2 separate regions of the Homo sapiens genome follow, and region 1 is linked to region 2. Evidence: promoter capture Hi-C in 16 types of primary human blood cells and fetal thymus (Javierre and others, 2016). All regions are on one chromosome and are shown on one strand. Each heading gives the region's core, a stretch centred on a gene start or on the middle of the fragment in contact. The rest is flanking DNA. Distances are from core to core; before and after follow the strand shown.

Region 1 (7,373 bases), core at 1,952-4,451, 4.5 Mb before region 2:
GAAAGATTCAGGTACAGGGAAGAATTCAGGTGTGCCGATTGGAGGTGTTGGCAAGGAGAAGCTAGAGGTTGGCTAACTAGAAACAGGGCATCTTATGTAATTTAAGGAGGATATTTAGCTTTCTCTGGTTGGTCTTAAGTTAGAAGCGAGTAATAAAAGAGGGAAGCTGGCAGTCATTGCCCAAGTCTTAACCATTCTTGGCTGATTGCTGCAGAGGTGGTGGTTTGGAAGTCTAGTTGCTAGAGAGGTTGTGGGTGAGAGTTCTGTTATCACATATGATCTGGCCATTGTCCATTTGTATAGTCAGTCTATCTAGGGGAAGATGTCATTGAGCAATTACCTCTCATTTAATCATCATAACTGCCTCTTCCATATCCCCATTTTACAGATAAAGCAAAGCTCAGGAAGTTTGAGTAATGTATTTAAGGTTATACAACTAGTGACCCTAGCAGAATTTAAACCTGTGTGTTCTGGACCTATTTTAAATGATGCTTCATCTTGTAAAGACCATGAGGTTATTCTGATGTTGCCCTATTAAAAATAGTAATTACATACTATTATTAAAAATAGTAATTACATACTATTTTAAAATAGTAGTTACAAACTACTATTTTAAAATAATAATTACATACTATTTTTAATAGATAGCATCATTTAAAATAGGTCCAGAACACACAGGTTTAAATTCTGCTAGTGTCACTCATTGTATAACCTTAAATACATTACTCAAACTTCTTGAGCTTTGCTTTCCTGATCTGTAAAATGGGCATATGGATAAATACTTGTTGGGTGAGTGAATGGATGAAAGTAATTTTAGAATACTTCTCTTGAAATTGCTTCCAAAGCTGGTATCTTTTGAATACCTTTAATGAATGCATATCTTGACAATGACTAACTTTTTGGAAACAGACAAACATTTTTCTGAAGTAAGGTGGTGAATAAGGTAAGAGAAGAAGCTGGCTCAAAAACCTGGCGTGTCCATTCAGTAATGACATTAATTTTGGGATTTTTGCACATTTTGCATGTGATTGACAAAGCAGCTTTGAAGGCTTTTCCAAAGAAGAAGTTGCAAAAATAGTTGCATTTTGAGAATAGGAACACAACTTTCCAAAAGTTTGAAAAATACTCATTTTAGAAAGTATGCTAAATTCTTGTTGTTTTGTGGTTTACCTTTCTGTTTAAAGTAGTTAAATGCTCTATGTCATTCAACAAATATTTATCAAACAGCTATTATGTATTTAGTGCTGTGCTTTGAACACAGATATTGGTATAGCCCTTGTGAACCAGGAGTTCACAGTCTAGTTGAGACAGAAAATTAACAATTGAAATGCAATTCAACAAATACCATAAATAGACTGATTTATATTAATAGCTGGATGCCATGGGAACATGCAGTAGAAACAGTGATGAGCTGGTACATGTTGAACAACTGACTTCTAGGGGAGTGGGTTGGAGTGTAAGGGCCTGATTAGCGGTGTTTACTGATTTCCATGGTGTAAATGCTCCCACCATGGCCAACGTGACATCATCAAAAGAGGAGTTGGAAGATGTGCAGTAGTATAACATTACATTGAATTTCCACCATATAGATAAAATGCATGTAAATAACCTGAAGAGCATAGATAATAGTAAAATGTAAAATAATTAGGAAGTGACAAATTTTGAGTATTTTTACTTTTGCTTGTAATATAATTTTTGAGTGGCTGTATTTGAAAACTAGCTCACAAAATTACTGAACATTTAACAATCAGCTCTTGCAAGTGGGTGTGACTCAGTGCAAATGGACAAACCACCAGGTGAAAGCAATGTCAGGAATTACTGTAGGCTCACATAAGATGAAGATTGTAAGGAAACTGGAGGCAGGGATCTCCAGCAGTGAACCTCTAAGTTGTTGAACTGTTACAGCACTGCCAGGTTCCTATGCCGGCTGTGCAGAAACAGACCAGTATTCCGACAGCAGGCTTGCAGCAGAGAAAGTTTTAATAATCACAAGTTACAAGCCAGGAAACAGGAAGAGTTCTCAAGCTTCAATCCATTTCATCAAGGGGTTCTAGGCAAAGTTTTTTAAGGGGATTTGTGGAGGGTGAGGGGCTGGAAAATTTGGGGTTATCGATTCGTTGGGGTAAGGGAGATGAAATCATTAGGATGTGACAATTGCATTCCTCCATGAATCAGCTTTTTATTGGGCCTTCCAGACAAGTTGGCGTCCTTAGTTTTGTTGGTATGCGGGACCTAAAGAAGCAATGCAAACAGAAAGCTTATCTTCTCATAATGTCTTAGATTTTATCTTCAGAGCAGAAAAAGAATGAAGAGTCTTGTGACAAGGGCCACATTCTCCTGGGGTAGTAAGTAGCAACCAGCTACAAGAAAGTCGGCCACACTGCAAGCTGGCTTAATAACAGCAGCTGTAAGCCTAGTTGGATTTTTTTCCCCTCCTTAATCAATTTTACAAAATGTTCTTGGGGATAGTTTCAGAATGGTCAAACTAATTCATTAATTCAATATCAACTTTTTTTTTAGGCCCTACTTTATTCTGGGCACTGTTTTAGGTGCCCGGGGGAAGGGGGCACCGCAGCAAAAACCGAGGTCCTGCCGTTAGGTTAGAGAGTTTACATTCATGGGTATGGGTGTGTGTGTGTGTGTGTATAAACAAACGTCTGGCATGTCACGTGGTGAGTAGTAAGTGCTATGGCTAAACAGTAGTGTCAAGGGGAAAATGAGTGGGGCACTGCTATTTCCTATGGGGTTGTGAGGCAGTAATAAGTGTGGAAATGTATCAAAGTAAAGATCGAAGGTTCTGGCATCTGACAGTTTGAATAAGGCGGAAGCACAGACCCTGCACAGATCTCAACCATCCAACAGGACTGAAACACAGAACTTGGAAAAACCCACGTACCTGCTTCTTACTCTGCTCGCCCGGTCTGCACAAGTGCAAAATCCTTTCCTGAAGTTTGTGTCAGGAACACCAGGGTTTAACTAGACGAATCAGCCGCAGCGGGGCGGGGCTAATTTCAGTCCTTCCTTTGCCAAAAGTCAGCGAAAAGCGCGGACTCCCTCGCGCATGCTCAAATACGCCAACTTCCTCCTGGAGCGCCATCTGAGAAGGTCTGCGCATGTGCACGAACGAGAAGTGTTTTTTTTGTTTTGTTTTGTTTTGTTTTGTTTTTTGTCCCAAGGCGCTGCCGTACCGTCCAGGCGGCGAGTTGCATTCTGGTTCCGTCGTGTGTCTGGCGTGTGGAGCTAGTGCTCCCGCTTATTCGCCACTGTCGCCACCGCTGTCATGAACCGCGAGAGCTTCGCGGCGGGAGAGCGGCTGGTGTCGCCGGCTTACGTGCGGCAGGGCTGTGAGGCCCGCCGCTCGCATGAGCACCTCATACGGCTGCTTCTGGAGAAGGTACCGAGCTGTCGGTCCCCTCCCCAGCCGCCGCGACCCCGGGGCTCTGGCTCCGCCGGGCGTCCCCGCTGGTGCTGCCTCACCGGCAGCTCTTCGCTGCTTGAGACTAGTCCCAAGTCTGTCTCAGCTTGGCTTGCCCTAGCTGACCGACTGCGGTCTGTGCCTTCTCAGCCTTGCCAAAGCCAGTGAAAGCCAAATGGTGTTGTTAGGAGGGGGTGTTGGGGTCGGGGTTTTGAGTCCCGCTGTTTCTAACTTCGGGATGCGGAAGTGAGGGAAAGTCCCAGTGTACTTTTTTATTCGCGGAAAGGGCAAAGTTCGCACCTCCATCTTTCACCAACCCTCAACGACTCAGAACACATAATGGTGTTTGTAGACTGTATGCTAACTCGAACCACGAGCTTTCCGCGGAACTTCACAGGTCTCCCTCCTGCCAGCGTTCATGTATTTTAATTTCATTAAAAGTTTTGTTGTGTTTTGTTTTTTTGAAACAGAGTCTCGCTCTTTCGCCCAGGCTGGAATGCAGTGTGACGATCTCGGCTCACTGCAGCCTCCGCCTCCCGGGTTCACGCCATTCGCCTGCCTCAGCCTCCCGAGTAGCTGGGACTACAGGCGCCCGCCACCACACCCGGTTAATGTTTGTATTTTTAGTAGAGATGGGGTTTCACCATGTTGGCCAGGCTGATCTCAAACTCCTGACTTCAAGTGATCGGCCATTCTTGGCCTTCCAAAGTGCTCGGATTACAGGCGTGAGTGAGCTACAGCGCGTGGCCAAAATTTCACTGAAGTTTGACAACTACCGCCCTTCTCCACGTCCCACCGCCCCAGTCGTAACGCCCTGGTTTGAAGCATCTTCACTGGGGATGTGTTGTATTGGTTTTCAGTTAGTTTCACTTACGGAAATTTAAATATCTCAGTAAACCTCATTGTATGCATTTATCATCACTTCTCGAAATCTGTAAATAATTGTAATCAAATGTACAAACGTTTTGCCTCTTTGCGGTCTCTATACAGTGGTGAATTTATGCTTGAATTTTAGAAAACAAGCAGCGTGGCAAAATACACGTTAAAAAGAAAAACTGTATTCCTGTAGTATTCTAGAGAACGGTAGTTTTATTAAATATAATCATAAGTTTTTTTTTTTTTTTAAGGGCAAGTGTCCAGAGAATGGCTGGGATGAAAGTACACTTGAACTCTTTTTACATGAACTTGCAATCATGGACAGCAACAATTTCTTAGGCAATTGTGGTGTGGGAGAAAGGGAAGGGAGAGTGGCATCCGCACTGGTTGCTCGTCGTCATTACAGGTATCTTTTTTTAAGTAGTACAGGAGATACATCGTTTATTTATTTTTGGTTCAAAATAATGGCAGCAGTATTTATCTTATTAGATTATCAAATGTCAGTTTGTAAACCACTTCTTCCCTGCTCTAATGGATATGTAAGCCAAATGCAACAGGGAGATGGAAACAATTTTATCTCAGCAGGTGCTTTTCAAAGACAATAGAGTAAAAACTAAGTGGGGGTTACCCTGTCAGGTTCTGGGTGACTAACACAGGCTATACGTTTTCTTAGGAACGGTTACCCTAATAAACATATCTGGTTGTAAGAGTTCAAAATCCATTAAGGTTGTTTATAGCTTTCCATATTTCTTTTCTAACATTTGTAGTGTTTTTTTTTTTTGAATGATTTATAGTTATCAACTTTAAATTTTGTTTTAAACTGTGTTTAAACTGAATCTCATTTTATAAATACCTCTGTTGCAATAGATACAGGGAAAGGTGTATTAGATTATTAAGTGACCTTTTTCTTTTGCATTATTGCAGAAAGCTTTTCATCAATTCTGATAACGATTTAATTGGTAGTTAATTGGTAGTTAATATGATCACTCATTGCTCTGTCCACTAACCTTTCTGTGAAGTGTAAACTCTTTTAAATGAAACTCCTGTCTTCCATGCTTTTACATTATAATGAAAATTTCCTGGGCATCGTAGAATTTGTATTTCAGTAAAAACCACTGCAGTCAAAACTGATGATAATGCCTAACTTGGATGAAAATTTCAGTTAACAGTTTGCTGATAACATGGTTGATAATATATGTAAGAAATGTTTTGTACATGAGATTTCAGTGGTGAGGAAGTACAGCACTAGTATTCTTCGATAATCCTCCTATACCGAATTTCTGATATATTTGACTGTCAATTAGAAATTACTCAAATTACGAAAGGGTTTTTTATTTTAAAGAGTATTGAGAGGTATCTTTAAACAATGTATAATATTGTCTAATTTAAAATGAGATTTGCACACTGATTTTCTAGGAGCATATAGTTCTTTTAAAATTAAGGCAATATTTGAACCATCATTGGAACTTAGCCCAGTGTGGAATTAGGGGAAAAGTAAAGAAAAAAGATAATTTGGCCGGGCACGGTGGCTCACGCCGGTAATCTCAGCACTTTGGGAGGCCAAGGCGGGCGGATCACGAGGTCAGGAGATCCACACCATCCTGGCTAACATGGTGAAACCCCGTCTCTACTAAAAATACAAAAAAATTAGCCGGGCGTGGTGGCGGGCGCCTGTAGTCCCAGCTACACGGGAGGCTGAGGCAGGAGAATGGCGGGAACCTGGGAGGTGGAGCTTGCAATGAGCCGAGATCGCGCCACTGCACTCCAGCCTGGGCGACAGAGCGAGACTCCGTCTCAAAACGAAAAAAAAAAAAAAAAAGATAATTTAATATTTCATGTATTCTAGTTTTCTATTGCTACAGAACAAACCACCCTAAAATTAAGTGGCTTAAAACATTTATTGTTACCTCTCATAGCTTTTTGGATTAACTGGGCTCAGCAGGGTGAGTATTGCTTTGGGTCTGTCATGTAGTTGCAGTCAGATACTGGCTGAGAGTTTAGTCATCTGAAGGTTTGCCTAGCATGAAAATTTCACACAGTTACTTCTGCTAGATTCTTCCTGGCCAAGCAAGTTACTAAATTCAGCCCAGATTCAAGTGGAGAGGAAGTAGACTCCATCTCTTGGTGTGGGAGTAGCATGTGGGCATAGGGAGAAAAAGAATTGATGGTGGCCGTCTTTGGAAACTAGCTATCACAGCATAATTGATGAAATTATTTCAATTTAAGTAGGAGAGTTCCACATCATTAATAGTTTGTGACATATATCTGTAACAGCCAAATATTGCTCCTGGTGTTTTTTTGGTTATTACATTTGCATATTTGTACATTGTATTACTCGGAATGCTGAATGTATTTGTCCAGTTTTTGGCCCATTTTTTGCTTAGGTTCATTCATGGCATTGGACGATCCGGTGATATTTCTGCTGTGCAACCAAAAGCTGCAGGCTCTAGCCTTTTGAACAAAATTACCAATTCTTTGGTCCTGGACATTATAAAGCTGGCTGGTATGTACCGTCTTAATCATAATGCTTTTGGCTGTCTGGACACACACACACACCACTGACTCATTTCATTTATTATTGCCCCTTTCCAAAAAGAGTATGAGTGGCTTTTGAAAAGACTTCTTTTTTTTTTTTTTTTTTTTTTTTTTTTGAGACGGAGTCTAGCTCTGTTGCCCAGGCTGGAATGCAGTGGCGCGATCTCGGCTCACTGCAAGCTCCGTCTCCCGGGTTCACGCCATTCTCCTGCCTCAGCCTCCCGAGCAGCTGGGACTACAGGTGCCCACCGCCACGCCTGGCTAATTTTTTTTTGTATTTTTAGTAGAGACGGGGGTCTCACCGTGTTAGCCAGGATGGTCTCGATCTCCTGACCTCGTGATCCGCCCGCCTTGGCCTCCCAAAATGCTGGGATTACAGGCATGAGCCACCGCGCCCGGCCGAAAAGACTTTTTTTTTTTAAATAAAAAGTCTTTAGAATAAGATAGAAAATCAGAGCCATAAGCCCTGAAGTTGAATTTGGCATTGAGCTTTCCAAGAGCGAGTACAGAAACAGAAGCCCTAGGGCTACGACTCTTACTATTTTAT
Region 2 (7,595 bases), core at 2,229-4,728:
AATGCAGGAGGCGGAGTTTGCAGTGAACCAAGATTGTGCCACTGCACTCCAGCCTGGCGACGGAGCGAGATTCCGTCTCAAAAAAAAAAAAAGATTCATTTCCAAAATTCAATCCATGTTATGTGTAACAATTCACAAGAGGAATGTTTCACTCATCTAGTTATAATTTCTGCTATAAAAGAAACACAAGTTTTAAAAATTATTTTCAAGTAACAAGCATATCCGATAAGAAAGTTGTTTGAAAAAGTGCTACACATATTGGAGAAAAAATTAAGACAAATTAGTACTATACTATCAACATATTTGACTTCTACCATCTACAAGCAAATGATCTTTCTTTTTGGCCCTTACAGGTCATGAAAATAATCCCTAAAATTTCAATATACCCACAAAGACTAAATTTCTGATTGAAATGCTAAACAATTCCTTTCTTTGCCTTTCAATTTTATTCTAGAGATAATCATGGTTTCATCTTCCATGTTCCACAAAATCAGAATTTTTTATGAATAGATTACTTTTATCGATTTTAACCAAATTTTACCAAGTCTAAAGTGAAAAATGTTATCCCATTCAATTTTTAACAATTTCAGACCATATTTCAACTCTGTATTAATGTTATATACTATACTACACTGAATTAGCGTTTCAAAAAATTTTTTAACTCAAATATTTAAAATATTAATGTGCATAAATCACAATAGTGAATTCACAAAAAATGAACACACCTGTTTATCAACAGAGTTGAAAAATCTGAAAGTTTCCAGCACACTAGATGCCTCCACTGCCTCTCCCAAATCCCTGCCCACCTTTCGCCCCAAAGGTGAACATTATTCTGACTTCCAACTCATTTGTTTTATATTGGTAGCTTTTACACATGCTTTTCTCGGGTCAAATTATTTAACTATTTCCCAAAACTTTCCTCGATTTTTACTAAAACTTAGGACTAAGGTCACTAAATATTATTAATTCAAAAAGTACTTCTTTAAAGAGAGGAAGAAAATTGAAGCGTCACCGTAAACTCCCTCAACTAAACATAAGCAAAGGAAGTGAGAGCAACAAGATTATTAGGGCCTTCTTCAGGTATTCAATTTCCTTGACACTGTAGATTACAGAAAAAAGCAAAGGAACATAGCCGCTCAAACTATTTGTCACTTTGCTTTTATCCAGTCGGACACTCCTTCTGTCTTGGAGAGCTCACTATACCTTTGCTTCCTTAAGTAACTGCCATACCCCTACCTACCACCACAGTCAGTCAGGAGCTTCAGCCACCCTCACAATCCCCTTCGAAGGCTGAAATCACTAACATCTCACCCTACCAAAGTTGGGCATGGGGCAAATAACACCTGGTGTTGTTGCACAGGTGTGTTCACTTCTGAATATTTTTACTGCATAAATCCCATGTTTATTAAATCTCATTAAATTGTTAGGAGAGGGCAAAGGAGGTTAGTACTACAACTAGGATTTCTGGTGGAACTAATTTACAGAACACAGGAAAGGTCAGAGACCTTTATGCAACTATAGAAGCACGAAAAGCATTCTGTGGCAACTGAATACAGTTTATTCATTGATATGGGGAAGTAAAACAACACTGCAAATAAAATCTAAAGCTAAAGTGCAATTTTCTATGCACTACAATGCGATATCCCAAACAGGTTAACTTCTATGTCTCCTTACCTCCATACTCACTCCCACATGTGACTGATTATCTCAGTTCTTCATCATAATAACCACATGCCCTTCTCTCATTATTAGCTCAAAACTAGCAAAGGGACAAAACTCAACACAGCATCCAGCATTGTTCAATACTGTGCGAAATGCCTTTAAAAAATCTACTGAGTTAGGAATAGTTTTGGACCTACCGGATTAATTGTTTTAGGGTTCAGTTTATCACTTGGTCTAGGATGAAGTTTTCTTGCAGACTCTGGAGAACTGGTTGACAATGAGGATTTGCTTCCCTGAACTGCATTCCTGTGTTTTAACTGTGTGCTTGATGATGTCCTTTGATCATAGTTACCTGGAAAAAAACAGAACATCAATAGAAACCAGGTACAAGCAATAAAGTTCACCCTGCATCCATCTGTAGCACAGAAAGTGCCATGAACAAACTTGACCTCTTCACTTAAAAACAAAAGCTCTGTACCTGTTGCTCTGTTTTTCAACTGTGTACCTCCAGAGCCCTCTGATTTCTGCATTGCTTCCCTTTCACTCCTGCAGTTTAAAAAAAAAAAAGTTGATTTCAAAATTTGTTTGGAGGGGCATTTGTTATCAATAAAAAGACAAAACCAGAACAGAGTATACAATACAGTAAAAGACACACAAAAAAGTTGATATGGAGCAAAATACTGGAAAAGACTAATGAGAAAACATGAAATTATGTCAACTTCAATAGTATCAATAACAGCAAAATAATCATCTCCAAGAAATGATGTACAAAAGTCAACTTTTTTTCCATTCAAATTGTCAAAATAAACTGTTAGAAACTCACTTCCAATTCTCTGACCACATTAGAAAACACAGACTAGATTTCTGAAAGGAGTGGTTGGTACATTCCCTGTCATCTTCTCCATCTTCTCTGGCCTCTGTATTTCCAAAGCTCCAAATGTTAACATGTGCACATCAAGCTCTACTTTTCCAGTGACATAATGAACTCTCCTACCCAATGTATCACAAGCTCCTTAAACTGAATGTAACTAAAACTGAGGTTGTCACACTGAAGTTATTATGAACCCCTTGTTAACCCAGGGTACCACCAGTTTTCTGGTCCTCAGACTGAAAAACTTAGAATCACCATTGTCTCCTTTTCCTTCATTTCCTACACTCAATGCTACACGTGATGAGAAAGAAAGAGCTTTGGGCTCAAATATGGGTCTGCATCTCAGTTCTACCAATTATGAAATTTATGAATTTAGGCAGATTATTTAACCTCCCTAAACCTCGACTTCCTGACCTGTTTAAAGAGGGAAATAAAAGCCTGTCAAGGTTTTCTGGAGGTGCAAATGAAATTATCTCTCAAGTTACTCACCCAGGGAATACTGGTTCACTTTTCCCTTACACAGTTGCTTTTTTTCTGCTAATGGAGGACTCTAGTTCATACCCCAAGGTTTCCAGCTAATCCAATCAATTTCTACAATTGTATCTCTAGCAAGAAATACACACACACAAACACACACACACACACACACACACACACACACACTCATATACCCAAGTGCCTACTGGTATTTTTAGGCCAAGCTTCATTCCCAACTTCCATGAAGCCTTTCCTCATCTTGGTTTCTCAAATGTGTATTTCTATGGCATTGATTTCTATCCTGTGTCCTTATTTCTACTTGATTACTCTGTTCCCTCACTTCCACGACAATCTAGTTATTCTATTAGCACACGTCTCATTTTAATGCCTTTAATAATGACTGCCTCTCAAGTATAGTGTAAGATCTTCCCTTAGGACAACACAGGTAAAGTCCTCTTCCACCTCCAAATGACACTTTTTCAAATATTTGATGGCATTAACTCTTAACTCCTTCATTTTTTCTTCTTCAGGATAAACACTGATACTTTTTAAAATGATTCCTCACATGAAATGCTTTTAATCCACTTAACAAGTTAGAAATCCTCAAAAGGAGGACAAAGCTCCATGTTATAAAATTTAGCCAGATATCTCAAACATGATGTACCAGCTTAAAGTCTGATACCATGTAAAGATAACCTAAATGTAAGCTTGCTTCTGCACACTGAATAATTTCAATTTCCTTGATTTAGTACATTGATCTCATTTATCTCATCCCACTACCAGCAGATGACTTACTTCCCAGTATCACACTTCACCTCCATTCCCAGGGCCATTTTCTAATACTACGGTAATTAAAATCTCATTAAAGTTGTCAGATAATAGTCTAAAATAAGCTGAGAGAAGCTTTAAATATGTTAACCTACTATTGTACTTCTGTGATCATTCAACAAGTATTTAATATTGTGCCTGACTTCTGTTTTGAGAAGCTCCTGGAGGGGGAACAACACAAGTTTCTATTGAAAAAAAAAATGCATCAGTTTCCTCAACTCTATAATTGGGCATAATTACAGGAACTACTTTAAGTGTTGATGAAGACTAGTAAGAATATATGTAAAACAACATTTCCATAATGGGAGGCATGCAGTAAGGGCCACATGAGTCTTAGCTATTATTATAATTTTCTTTACAATGGTACAAAGTGTTCTTCAGTATTACTATTACTAATAGTGAAACCACATGTTTTGTCATTTTTAAAAAATCTGGCTTAACATCTTGGGCTACATCAATTTGAAGACCAGCTGAGGTCCAATTTCTCTTGATCATCAATTGTTAACAGCTGCAACAGATAAAAGCGATGCACAGCAAAGACGCGTACCCACAAACATAACAAGGGCACAGGCAGCCATATCAAATTATGATGCACATTTTTCAATACTACCTACCAATTCAGTGGAAGTTTTGGATGGAATTTTATGGCTAAATTTCTATCTTCCTTCACGTCAAAAAGTTGTTCCTGTAACAAACTAATGGGGAGGTGTTGCATTATATTTTGAATGAGTTCAAAAAGTCACCAAAACTCATTTGAAAAAGTTTTAAACATGGTAGAAAATCGAGCTTCTACAGTTTATGAGTATACAGGACAACTTTTATGTACAATATATAATTTTCAGCATTAAACATACAGTAATGCAAACACGTCTACATCCCCTTTCAAAATCCTGTATTAGAGAATTTCCTTCCAAAACAATTGCTTTTTCACTTAAAATTTTTATCCTTTACCTTAACGACAAATTACAGTTGGCTCTCCGTATATGCGGGTTCCACATCTATAGATTTGACCCAACCACGGATACGGAGAGCAGACTGGAGGACTTTGGCATGGGTGGATTTGGGTATCTGAAAGAGACTGGGGGGAGGGAGGGAGTCCTGGAGCCAATTCTCCACGGACACCAAGGGACGACGGGAAATGTAGTCAATTTTTTAAAATAATATCCACCTGGAAGCATGCCACTGACAAGCCTGGAGCATGAGTTGTTTGTGAAAGCAAGCTTTAAAAATCTTATCCTTGGTAACCCTTTCAAGTGGTTTTTCATTAAATAACATGTAGAGGATGGTGTAAAGGGGCAGTGATGGGGAGAAGCGAACCTGTAAGAACTATTTTGTGTTACAAATATTATCAAGGTCACCGCTCATTCTTTTACAAAACAAGATAAACATTCTAATTATAGATATTAGAATCCATAAATCCACTTAACTTCGAACACCTAAACTATGTCACAATATCAGAAAGCAAACAAACCACCCTATGAAGCCCACACATTCCCCTTAAAGCTTCCTTGGTTGCTACAGGTCATCTATCTACAAGGGACTGCCGGTATCTGTGTCAATGGTAGGAAAGTGTACTTTCTATCATTGTTTGGGCAGCTGATATAGCCTATTTCTTTCCCTGTATGTACTTTCTCCCGTACTCAGCTTTAAGACCACTGAACTAAAACAATTCTCAGTCAGCAGAGCCCTGCTTTCTAATCCAGGTCTAGAAAGTTCCAAACGTGTAAGTAAGAGCCCCACTAAAGAAACCATGTTCCATTTGTAAAGCTCTGTCAAATTCTAAAAGACCCAGAGCCCAATAGTCACTTATCCCAGTCCCTTTTTTACCAGAAAGTAAATTCAAAGGGCCAGTATTAGGGTCGCACAATCTGCTTAGGGGTCTTAGAATCTATTTTCCACCTTCCCAGCCACCCCTCCTACACTCACTTCTAGATACTTAAAGACCAGTCCAGAGCCAGGATGCTATCAAAGTCAGCAAAAGAGGAAGACACAGAAAAAAAATAAAGAAAAAACAGAGATTTTTTAAAGGGGCCGAGGGAGGAGTTTACCAGTTTCAATTAAGGTTAACGAAGGCTACTCTCGACTGACCCTCTACCCCAGGAAAGGAGGGGTACACTCCAAGCGCTCACGATCTCAAGGGTCCTTAGCAACGGGGTCCAGCGGCCCTAGCAACAGATCAGGAAGCAAGCCGGCTTGGCAGAGAGCGCAGACAGGACACCTGTACCCGCGGTTCACGGCTCCGGGGACCCGTTCCTACCGCGCCTCTCTCCCGCCGCGATCCGCACACCAGCTGCCCCCCACCGGGGGGGGCTTATGACCGGCACTCGGTCGGCCAACAACCGCGGCTACCGCCACCGAGCGCCTGCGTTTGGGGAAATGAGGCTCCGCGCGGCCCGCCCCTGAACCTGGTCGCGCCGCGCAATGACGTCAGACGCACGCTGCGTCGTCTAAACCAATGGTAAGAGGTCGCGGAGGCGCCCCAGAAGAGGGTTGCCCAGGCAACCAGGCGCCAGGAGTTCAGGGGGCAGCTCACGCACTGCAGGCGCTGTCTCTGGCGACAAAGGGGCACGTGGTGGAGGATGTTTTTCGAATAAGAGGTCCGGAGAGCAGAGGGACGATGACGGGTTCCCAGTCGCCTGCGCCCTAGCCTCTCTTCAGTCCATGTGCTTAACTCCTAAACGCTTTTCTCGCACACTTAATACTCATTGTTCCTCAGCTATCTTACCCTCAATACTCGGAGAACTGAAGACTGTGAACTCCTCCCCCCGAGTCTTCAGGGGTGAGAGCCGAAGCCATCTGCATGCCCAGCTGTGGGATTTTCTTGTAGTTTCCTGTTCTATCTGGCTAAATCATAAGCCTAGCTGTGGAAATTCGTTTCCTGTCGTATTTTATGAATCTCATATGCTATTGCATTCTTCACAGTATATCCGCATTTAAATAGTAAAAAGCACGATTTTGTGCTCTACATTATTTTTAATAGTAAAAATATTTAATAGTGAAAAGCACGATTTTATGCTCCACATCATAACAAAACTGATGCTGCAGGAAAATGCATATTCCCTTGTATTGCATTCCACCAGCAACAATTTGGGTTGTCATAGTTAAGTCCAAGCCCTTTGGACCTGTCCACTGCACTCCTCTTTAGCATCCTCTACTGTTGCCAACCCAAAGCCCTAACTTTTTGCTTAGGTAACACTAAATTGGCATTGTCTGAGCACTCGAGGCTGTGTAATCCTTCTGTGCTCCTGTAGCTCCATCCTTGCTACTTGACCAGCACCCCAGAAGCATCTTCATTAGATTGTGAGTTTCCTCAGGATAAGGATTTTAACTTTGCCCTTTTTATTTCTCCAGCTTCAAGCATAATGCAGTGGGTATTCAACTAATGTCTTCTGAATGAATAAAATGAATTAATAAATTCTGTCTATGTCTAATTTCTCTAATGTTCTGTGAACCTTGCATACAAATCTAAGTTTTAAAATTTATTATAATGTATTTACCTATCTTTCTCACTAGACTGAAATTGTCTTTATTGCTTTTCTATCCCCAATGCCTAGCGCAATGCATGCTTAACTAACGTTTTTAAAAGGAAAAAGAAATTTTTAAAAAAAAAAATCTTATATCCTGTATCTTCAGCTACTTTTACTTTATAATCTCTCATCTCCAGCTTCCTCAAGACTTATTATATTTTCCTTACTCCTAGCATCTCCAGTGTCAGACTCAGTAGAGCTCCTAGTTCGTGACCTTTTAACCCCTCCTC

What was found. The method cuts DNA at HindIII sites, captures the fragments that hold promoters and counts their contacts. A CHiCAGO score of 5 or more calls a contact.
Region 1: a contact is called between the fragment with the promoter of SEPSECS here and a fragment that was not itself captured in region 2, in 1 of 17 cell types (fetal thymus). The highest score is 7.4, in fetal thymus.

What each region holds. Positions count from the first base shown.
Region 1 is chr4:25,156,277-25,163,649 of GRCh38, reverse strand. SEPSECS (Sep (O-phosphoserine) tRNA:Sec (selenocysteine) tRNA synthase) reads left to right here and starts at 3,201. Exons shown (of 11, transcript NM_016955.4): 1 at 3,201-3,394; 2 at 4,543-4,697; 3 at 6,676-6,794. The coding sequence starts at 3,281. SEPSECS-DT (SEPSECS divergent transcript) reads right to left here and starts at 2,978. Exons shown (of 2, transcript NR_037934.1): 1 at 2,897-2,978. RefSeq lists an enhancer at 2,938-3,237 and a silencer at 3,348-3,517. The HindIII fragment of the contact is 2,962 bases long and covers 2,260-5,221 here.
Region 2 is chr4:20,699,079-20,706,673 of GRCh38, reverse strand. PACRGL (parkin coregulated like) reads right to left here and starts at 6,216. Exons shown (of 9, transcript NM_001258345.3): 1 at 5,887-6,216; 2 at 2,141-2,208; 3 at 1,860-2,014. The coding sequence starts at 2,192. RefSeq lists an enhancer at 5,984-6,103. The HindIII fragment of the contact is 483 bases long and covers 3,237-3,719 here.